Linked DNA regions of Homo sapiens: all the other regions are linked to region 1. The links are contacts of gene promoters, found by promoter capture Hi-C in blood cells and fetal thymus (Javierre and others, 2016). All regions are on one chromosome and are shown on one strand. Each heading gives the region's core, a stretch centred on a gene start or on the middle of the fragment in contact. The rest is flanking DNA. Distances are from core to core; before and after follow the strand shown.

Region 1 (3,391 bases), core at 332-2,831:
TGGGATAATACTGGTACTCTTACCTCACAGGATTGCTGGTGAGGGTTAAATGAATTCATATTTATAAAGCCCATAGAGCAGGGCCTGGCATATAGCAAACATTATGTAATTGATAACTCAAAATTGAAAATACAAGGAGAAAGAGAATTACCTCATGTATTCTTCATGGTACATCTGTGAGTTGGCTACTGTTATGTCCGTTTATAAGGAGGAAAACTAACAACCTGGAGGTGCCTGGGAATAATGTTACTGCCTATAAAGATGCTTTGATTGACCAAACATTAATCGGATTTCTGAATCTTCTCCTAAGCCCATCAGTGAGGTTCCTTATAAAAATTCAGTTTTGGGCCAGGCGAGGTGGCTCACGTCTGTAATCCCAGCACTTTGGGAGGTGGAGGCAGGTGGATCATGAGGTCAGGAGTTCAAGACCAGCCTGGCCAAGATGGTGAAATCCAACTCTACTAAAAAATACAAAAATTAGCCGGGCACGATGGCGGGTGCCTATAATCCCAGCTACTCGGGAGTCTGAGGCAGAAGAATCGCTTGAACCTGGAAGGCGGAGGTTGCAGTGAGCGGAGATGGCGCAACTGCGCTCTAGCCTGGGGGACAGAGTGAGACTCTGTCTCAAAAAAAAAAAAGAAAAGAAAGAAAGAAAAATTCAGTTTTGGCATGAACTCTGCTAAGTCTGTTTAGTAGCAACCACCCATCTTCGATTTCTGATCACCCTCGATATCTGATTAGTTTCCTCATCCTCCGCGGTCCCCCAGGTGATGTCTGAGCACCCTGGCCTGTCTTCAGCAAGAATCCTCTTAGGTTAGCTGAGCCCGAATCCCTCTGACTCCTGGACTTCCCTCCTAGTAAATTTCCATTCGCTGACCCCCCACCTGCTTCTTGGCTACAAATTCACACTTACCCATGACCTACTGGGAATCAAGTCTAATCTTTCTCCCTCACTGCAAAATCCCATTGCAGGGGTCCCTACATCTATGGAGAAAGTTTCCCTGCCCAGTAAAGTCTTGCTTGTCATACTTTAACAAGCGTCATATGAATATATATATACACATTAAAAAAATTTTTTTTTTCCTTTACCAATCTCCCCAGAGGGCATTGAGGCTCTAGGAGCTTGGCCATCTTGTAAGTGGGGATTGCAACCCAGGGCCATCCTTCAAATCCACTGGGCTCCTGTCTCTCTCTTCCCTTTCTGCAGGTCCCCAGGGGAAAGGCAGGATACGACACGCTCTAGGGAAGGTATTTCCAGAGGGTGACCTGAGCCCTCAGCCAGGCTCGGGGTTATTAATAGCCAGGCCTTAGTGCCCCGCTCGGGGAGGGCGGCTCCAGCTCCTGGAGCAAGAGGAGGGCGGAGCTGAGCGGAGTGGCCAGGGGAGGAGAGAGTGTCCGGAGAGGCCGGCTGAACTTGGACGCGGCCCCTCCCAGCTCCCCCCACAGCCCAGCTGTTCCCTCCGCGGATTCTCCGGGGCTGGTTCATCACCTCCGAATATTCCTGTGACAGGAGACGCTTGCAAAACCCGCCTCCAGCCTCCAGCAGCAAATAAATAGAAGGCTTGCAGCCCAGAAGGAGCCAGAAGAAGTTTCTAGGCGCGCGTGCCCTGGGTTTATTAAGCTCCTGGCTCCGCTCTAGACCTCAGCGGTTCTGGCTGCCAGCCTGGGCAGCCTGGGAAGCCTGGGAGGACGGTGGCTTGCCGGTCTGTCGTGAGGCAGTGCGGACGGGGACCCTCTGGGATTCTGCTGGATCTGCCCCGGGGGTTACCTTTGGGGGCTGGGACCCCAGTCGAGGGGACACAACCGTCCCTGGCAGTGGTTGGTTCTGCTTCTCCCTGCAGAAAAGCAGCATTTTCGGAAGCTGAAGAATAAGCTAGCCCAGCCACACCACCTTGTTGTGTGACCTTGGGCAGGTGGTTCTGTCTCTCTGAGCCTCTGTTTCTCTCTGAGCTGAGCAGCCACCATGGCTGACGGTCAGATGCCCTTCTCCTGCCACTACCCAAGCCGCCTGCGCCGAGACCCCTTCCGGGACTCTCCCCTCTCCTCTCGCCTGCTGGATGATGGCTTTGGCATGGACCCCTTCCCAGACGACTTGACAGCCTCTTGGCCCGACTGGGCTCTGCCTCGTCTCTCCTCCGCCTGGCCAGGCACCCTAAGGTCGGGCATGGTGCCCCGGGGCCCCACTGCCACCGCCAGGTTTGGGGTGCCTGCCGAGGGCAGGACCCCCCCACCCTTCCCTGGGGAGCCCTGGAAAGTGTGTGTGAATGTGCACAGCTTCAAGCCAGAGGAGTTGATGGTGAAGACCAAAGATGGATACGTGGAGGTGTCTGGTAAGTCAGGGGCAGGAGGGAGAGAGAATGGGGAGGCCGGGATGTAGCCCTCAGCCCTGGGAATAGCCAGAGAAAGTTTCCTGGGAGCTGACGTTGGGACAGTGTGACACAGGTGACCTCAGGGCTCAGGAATGCAGCCTGCAAAGTTATCTTTACGGAAAACTTCTCTCCCGGCTCCCAGCAGAGATCTTAACCTGCCTGACTCAGCTATTGGGGCCTCTGGGTGCTCATCAATCATGGTACAGACAGGAAAATAGAAACCATGTTGGATATTTTGACAGAGGGCATTTAATATAAAGAATAGGTTAAGCAGATATCAAAGAATTAAAAAACAAAGAAGAAACGGGATTTTGTGCACTCCAGCATCATAACAGAGTCTAGAAGTGCACGTTAAGGCTGAACAATGATAGTGTTAATAACCGCAACTGGTTTCCGGTGAAACACCTCTCCTTGTCCCAGACAGGGAAACTGAGGCTTACCAGTAATTGTAGTAACACTAACTGGTAACTCTGAGTGCTAACTATTCGCTCAGCACTTTGCTAACTGCTGTTGCCTATAATATCTCAGCTAATACCACAACCAGAGGAGGTGGGTACTGTTTATCTTCTTTTTTCAGATGAGGAAACTGAGGCACGGAGAGATTAAAGTAACTTGTTCAAGGCCACCAAGGAGTCAGACCCAGGTTGTCTGGGAATTAGGAGGCCAGAAAGAAGAAGTGATGATTTACTGAGCACCTACTAGGTGCCAAGGGTGGGCTGACATTCTTATACTTCTCCAAAATCATCCTCAGTCCACTCCAGGGTAGCAGGGTAGGCCCATCTTGCAGCTGAGGAGGCTGAGGCCTAGGTGGGACTCGTTCACAGTCATGCCATGAGTCAGCAATAGGAGTGGAGTAGGGACTGGGCCTATGCACAGCTTTAGGCCCAGGGCTCTCACTGCCGCATCCCACCCTGGGAGAAATAAACATACTAGGGGGAAAAATGAGAGAAGACAGGAAGCTCAGCCCCTGTGAAGCTGGGCAGTAGAAAAATCTTTCTTTTCCTTCCCTCCTGATTAACACT
Region 2 (3,391 bases), core at 278-2,777, 770 kb before region 1:
GTTTACATTGAAGACTCTTTGAAACGTTCAGACCGCCTAGCATTTTTCATTGGAAAGGTAATGGCAAAACAGTATGAAAGAACCTTAAAAGCTCATACTTTTGTTCATTCAACAAACATTTCTTCTGTTCTGTATTACGCTTTCTGCTAGATATGAAATGGATACTGCCATCATTTCTCAGGTCTTTTCATTCTGATATATTTCTTTTTATTCTTTATCCATATGCAGGCATAGTCTATTCATTCTAAGGCATAGTGGACATACGGTTTGCTTTGCCTTTCTGTTTGGTTATATTGAGAATGTTTTTCTGGGTTACTGTAAGGTGTCTCATTATCATTTATAATGGCTATATAATGACCCTTTGAGTTTCAGTATCTAACCAAAAGTTCCAAAATTGGGGTAATGATTATTTATTTTGAATTCTTAAAAAAACCCAGCATTGTGTTAGGTTGGTTACCCGATAACATTGTACTTGTCAAAAATGCTTAGGGTTCTAGTCATGGCCGAAGTAAATCATTTCCACCTATTAAGTTGCAGTGAGTTAATTGCCCAGTAGATGCTGGAGGCTGGCTTTATCTCTAAGGCTGATCTTGATGACTTCTTCCCCTCTGAGTTGGTGTTCTTTGGCATTCTTCAGAAAGGTCGGTTTGTGTTATATCTTAACATTATGTCTCAGAACACATCGCCACTAGGTGGCAGGCTCTAACAGCTTAACACTGAGAAGGGCAAAATGAGATGAAAAATGTTTCTAATAATGAAAACCAAATAACCTTTAAAGATCAAGCCCACACATAAGAACCATCTTTGAAAATGATGAGATTTATCACTAACATTTTTACAAATCTATGAGTCTTAAAGCCATGTGATATTTCCAGTGATGTTCATTTTGTAATTGTGTTGCTTTGAATCTTCCTCTTTCTAAGCTTAATCCTCAGACTTTACGAGACATGTCTTGAGGGTGAAAATGCAGTAAAATAAAATTCTTGTTTTTTTAAAGAAGAGATCCACAATGTCTGGTGTTTCCTAATGTAAACAAAATGATCAGATTTGATGTGTTAGAACTCCTAAGCATTTTGAAGGAATTTTCACCATCTTTCTTACATTAACAGCAGAAATTTAGAAAATAATGTCACTGGATGCATTTTACTTTTTCAGTGAAATTGAAATTGCTTATTCTCTTGTTAAATATACTTTGAGAATGTTGTTTTTTTTCTCTATTCTGTATACTTTTCATTTTTGGCCTTGGCAGTCAGAGATCATAATGCAGTTGTTGAAGGTGGGTCTCCCTCTTCCCCAATGACAATTGAAAAGTGTTCCTGGGAATACTGGCTGAGGTGTTCACTGGTGCAGTGCCAGCCTCTCCCATCTCACCAGGCTCATGTTTGGCTTTTGTATCAGTTTGGAGGTTTTGTTTTTCTTTCTTTGGCAGACGTGGCCTGTGGCTGAGAGGTCAGCTACATTGCTTTATGCTCTTTCCAGAGGGTATGGAGTATTTTGGTGCAGCCGTATTTTTGGCAGAAGATGTCTTCCTGAGTTTTAAATGACTTCAGCAAAACAAATGGGATTCAGGCATCGCATCTTGGTGTGAATACTTGCCAAGCTCCCTTTCATTTTGAAAGATAAGGATCTTCCCTTTGCCTTGGTCTTATACTGCTTTTAAGGCATTCTATATCATGCTATGTAAATTTGCCTCACATTTTGATTTGGACTAATGATCTCTCAAAAAATACTGTGAAAAAGTAGCTGATATTTGAAAATAACTAATTGATGGTACGGGTGGACTTCTGTTTTTCTCTCCTTGTTTTAAATCTGGGGCTGCCTGTGAGTCAGAAACGAAGCCACCCACTTGCTCAAGAGCATTTTCCCCTTCAGCCTTCGGTCGACACAAAAGACTTAAAACAGTGAATATTTACCAGTAGAATTGGGACTCCTTGAGGTTCTGTAGCTATAACGTGGACTCACTTATTGGGGAAATAAAGTGTTAATACCAGGATTCTCAGTAGGATACAAAATTAAATTAATTTTCCTACCTCCTCGCCCCACTTTTGTGTCCACCTTCTTAAGAAATTGCTTTTCGAAAATAGTACAGTAGTGGTAATTTCTAGTTTTGTTCGGTTTAATAGTAGAGGTTCAAAGCTTTAAGAACTTAATTGTAGAGATTCCCAGGTCAGAATTTCCATTAGTTACAAAGTAATAGAGTCAGTTTGACATTTGGGGCTTAGTCTTTGAGGCTATTTAAATATCTTTTTTCAGCAGCTGAGTTGCAGCTTGTAAAACAGGTTAATTGGCCTAAAAAAAAAACGCACATTTTTACTACCCTGTTGATGTTGCTTCGTAGCACATTTTATATCTAAACATATTTTTAAATTTCTTCCCCCCCCTTTGATTTTTCTTTAGAAATTAAAAAGTAAATTCTTATGTTAAGGTTGTCACATACTTCTTGGTTTCATCTTTAACCGCCCCCGCCCCCCCATATGAACACTTCATTTTTTATTTTTTTGAGACAGGGTCTCACTGTCCCCCAGGCTGGCATGCAGTGGTGTGATCATAGCTCACTGGAGCCTTGATCCCCCTGGCTCAAGCGATCTTCCCACTTTGGCCTCCCGAGTAGCTGGGACTACAGTCCTCCATTACCATGCCTGGCTAATGTTTTTTTGATTTTTAGTAGAGATGAGGTCTTGCTATGTTGCCCAGGCTGTCCTCAAACTCCTGAGCTGAAGTGATCCTCCTGCCTCAGCCTCCCAAAGTGCTGGGATTACAGGTATGAGCCCTGAACACTTTAATATCTAAGGACTTATCTTTTCAGAGAATTCAAATAATTTAATAGATTTGGTATCTAGGGATAATGGTTCCCCCAAGACATCGTGTAGTGCATGAGGATCCCTTGAAGGTCTCAGAGACTGCGGTTCAGGAGGGACCTGGTGATCAGTTGGTTTGGAAGTTGGCTGCTTTGGGAAGCATGTTGGCCACCTCTACTTTGGAGCAAATAGGGACCAATGGTGGACATTCAGGCCACCACCATTCAGTGATTCCAAAGGAGGCGGATCTGGGAGGTGGCCACATTCCCAAGTTCCAGACCACTTCCCAGAGGTAATAGACCAGCTTGCATTGTTTACTCTGGGTGTTCGCTTTTAAGTCAGTTGAATTTCTTGGGTTTGGGTTCTAAGTACCACTGAAGGAAAATACAATGCATCTCATGAGAATTGTTGGAATAGCCTTCCAGAGTCAGCTGTTTTCTTTAAAAGACCTTTGTGAGGATATGATACATGGATACACATGTAACATGTATATGTGTTATTTTTGGTTTTTTTTTTTTTTTTGAGACAGAGTCTCGCTCTGTCGCCCAGGCTGGAGTGCAGTGGCGCAATCTTGGCTCACTGCAGACTCCGCC
Region 3 (3,391 bases), core at 433-2,932, 760 kb before region 1:
GCATCACCTCCTACAAATGGGTGGGGACTGCCCCAGGTGCAGGGGTGAGAAGGACTCTGAGGCCCAAGTTCCAGTAGAGCAAGAAACAGTTGCCCAATCCATTTTTTCTGCTGTGAGCAAGGGAGTCCATTTAGTGTTCCTGATTTAGTTTGAGCCCTTCATTTGAAGATGAAAACAGCTGCAGCCCAGAGATGTTAAATGACTTTCCTGTGGTCTTAGAGCTATAGTCAGTACCACAGCTGGGCTATAGTCAGTACTACAGCTGGAATATGGTTAGGACAATCATTTGAGGACCTCTTTATGCCGGGCTGGGTGCTGGAAAGCATAGTGGACAGCTCCTGGGATATGAGACTTTCAGGACTAAAACCAGAAAGTCCCAGGCACACTGGGATGGAAATACCCTAACACTGCCATCGTTCTATGGGTTCATTTTTGCCTCTGTCTGTACCTGCCCAGTGGAGGTGATGAAGGCCCTGAGTTCATAATCCTGGCCTAGCCACTCATTAACCTTGGGACATTTTCTTAGTCTCTGTGTGCCTCAGTGTTAGGGTATTCCCATCCCAGTGTGCCTGGGACTTTCTGGTTTTAGTACTGAAAGTCTTGTATCCCAGGAGCCCTGTCAGACTGGGGCAAGCTGGGATGGTTGGTCACCCTACCCAGTTTCCACTGTAAAATGGGGGTGACAACTGCTGTTTTTTCACAGATTTGATTTGAGGGTTAAGTAATTTATTATTGATAAAGTACTTAGAAATAGTGTTTGGGACATAGTCTTTTCTCTCTCCCTTTCTGTGTATATAGATATACACACACACACGTACATATGTGTGTGTGTAATATAACACATATGCACATGTATATATACACACACATATACATACACACATTGTTAGAGATGAGGTCTCACTGTGTTGCCCAGGCTGGAGTGCAGTGGCTATTCACAGGCACCATCATGGCTCACTGTAGCCTCAAACTCCTGGCCTCAGGCGATCCTCCTGCCTCAGCCTCCCAAGTAGCCGGGACTAAAGGCAATACATATTTATTTTTCCTTGTTATTCTTGTTTTCATTATTATTGGAAGAAAGTGTTTCCACCACAGAACGGGTCCCTGGAGACCTTCACTCTTATCCCAAACAAGACAGGGAACTTTGCTATGATAATCTTTTGGTCACCTGCAGCCAGTTGTTTGGAGTGTTTCTTCATCTACTTGAAATAGTAAATAATCATAAGCTTGAGGAACACATTTGTCATTGCATTCAATTCAAAAACCATTTATTGAATTTTACTGCATGTTAGGTAGTGTTCTAGGCTCTTTTGGGGGATTCAGAGAAAGCTAGGCAGGCCTTGAGCAGTGTCTATGACCAAGAATGGGAATTCCATACAGAGGAAATGGCTTGAGCAAAAAGACAAGTGGATATGAGTCATGTTTAAAGTCAAATAGTAGCGTGTGTTTAACATACATCACAAGCCTTGAACTTTTTTTCTTTTTTCTTTTTTTTTAGACAGAGTCTTGCTCTGTCGCCCAGGCTGGAGTGCAGTGGCACAATCTTGGCTCACTGCAACCGCCGCGTCTCACAGGTTCAAGCGATTCTCCTGCCTCAGCCTCCTGAGTAGCTGGGATTACAGGTGCCTGCCACCATGCCCGGCTAATTTTTGTATTTTTAGTAGAGACGGGGTTTCACCATGTTGGACAGGCTGGTCTTGAATTCCTGACCTCATGATCCACCCACCTCAGTCTCCCAAAGTGCTCGGATTACAGGCGTGAGCCGCCACGCCTGGCCACAAGCCTTGAACTTTAAAACCAGTTTGCTCCCTGTTTGGTTATCTTTTTGCCCTTTCCCATCGAGGACTCGCCTTCCTTTCCTTTCTGCCTCTCTCCTTTCTTCTCCCCACTGTGCCTGCCCTGCTTGCTCTTCTTCCCCTTTCTGTCACCAGTGCAGTGGCTCATGGCTGACCTGCAGTGATGCTTTCCAATTTCACACTAACATGCTCCTGAAAGTATTAATAAGCTAACTCATATGTAAAACCAATAAAGGGCAACAGCACACATTCCTGTTAGACAGTAATTTTACCTGATTCCCTTTCTCCTACTTTGATCAGTCCTCTTCTCTCAAACATGGTTCTTTGACCTTCCCAGAAGTGAAAGCTTATGGGAATTCAAGCTTGGTGGAGCCCTGCGGGCATATTAGGAAGGAATAAGGGCTCAAATTTATTGAGCACTTATGATGTGTTTGGGTGAGGGCTAAGTACTTTTTATACATTATTGTATTTAATATACTAAACTGCCCTGTGATGTGTGTCTTCGTGATTTCCATTTTACAGATGATGAAAATGAGGCTTGAGGAGGGGAAGTGTTCACCTCTGCACCACGTTCACACATTTCCTTTCCCCTTTGGCTTCTGTCTTCCTAATGTAGATGGCCAAAGCATAAAGGACCCTTAGTTGTCATCTTAGCCAACCCCTTCCATTTTTCGCTTCTGGAAACAGACGCCAAGCTAGAACTCAGTTCTTGTAACTCTCAATTCAACAATCTAAATGGAGAAAAGAAATCCAGTTGTGAGACTCAGAGGCAGGGGCTTGAGACAGGTTTGAATCTGGATTGAACTCTGCTGCTTACAAGCTGTGTGAACTTAGGCAAATCACATAACCTCTCGGGGCTCCAGTTTCCTCATCTAGAAAGTGGGACTAATAATAGCAAGGTTTATTGTCAAGATTAAATGAAGTCATGCAAGCAAAACAATATAATAACTATTGTGCTTCAAACAAACTCTGTAGGTCACTTGAGTGCTTTAGAAAATATAACCTGGCCAGGTGTGGTGGCTCACACCTGTAACCCCAGCACTTTGAGAGGCTGAGGTGGGAGGATCACTTGAGCCCAGCAGTTTGAGACTAGGCTGGGCAACATGATGAAATGCTGTATCTACGAAAATTATCCAGGCGTGGTGGTGTGTGCCTGTAGTCCTAGCCACTCAGGGCCTGGGGTGGGAGGATTGCTTGAGCCCGGGAGGTTGAGGCTGCAGTGAGCCATGATCGCACCACTGCACTCCAGCTTGGGAGACACAGACCCCATCCCAAAAACCAAACAAACAGAAAATGTAGCCCACACCATGCCCGTGCCGGGTGGGCATGGTTATCACAGGGATTGCCTACCCCAACTCCTGCCCCACCTGCTCAGGCAGGTCCCATTGTGCCTCAAGGATAAGCCCATGGTGAACTTCCAAGGGTACGCCATCCAGGGAAGGCCAACAGAAGCCACTAGTCAAGTGGCTTGACTAGTTCAAGACAAGCAGATCTCCAGGCATCTGTTTTCATCTTGTTAACCTTCTCACTAGAGAAGAGTTTGAATTGCTGCCTCTCTGGGTGTGTGGAGATAGCCACTGGATTGTGAGCCAGAG

Evidence for each region. The method cuts DNA at HindIII sites, captures the fragments that hold promoters and counts their contacts. A CHiCAGO score of 5 or more calls a contact.
Region 2: a fragment that was not itself captured here is called in contact with the fragment with the promoter of HSPB8 in region 1 in 1 of 17 cell types (endothelial precursors); the score reaches 6.2 in endothelial precursors.
Region 3: a contact is called between a fragment that was not itself captured here and the fragment with the promoter of HSPB8 in region 1, in 1 of 17 cell types (endothelial precursors). The highest score is 5.8, in endothelial precursors.

Annotation. Positions count from the first base shown.
Region 1 is chr12:119,177,350-119,180,740 of GRCh38, forward strand. It overlaps HSPB8 (heat shock protein family B (small) member 8), which reads left to right and starts at 1,582. Exons shown (of 3, transcript NM_014365.3): 1 at 1,582-2,330. The coding sequence starts at 1,964. RefSeq lists enhancers at 1-5, 1,185-1,934. The HindIII fragment of the contact is 5,655 bases long and covers 1-3,391 here.
Region 2 is chr12:118,404,417-118,407,807 of GRCh38, forward strand. The region is part of intron 10 of SUDS3 (SIN3A corepressor complex component SDS3); the gene reads left to right. Among named protein-coding and RNA genes, the nearest start is that of SUDS3, 30 kb to the left of the region's middle. RefSeq lists an enhancer at 582-631. The HindIII fragment of the contact is 1,213 bases long and covers 922-2,134 here.
Region 3 is chr12:118,421,168-118,424,558 of GRCh38, forward strand. No RefSeq gene overlaps it. Among named protein-coding and RNA genes, the nearest start is that of SUDS3, 46 kb to the left of the region's middle. The HindIII fragment of the contact is 916 bases long and covers 1,225-2,140 here.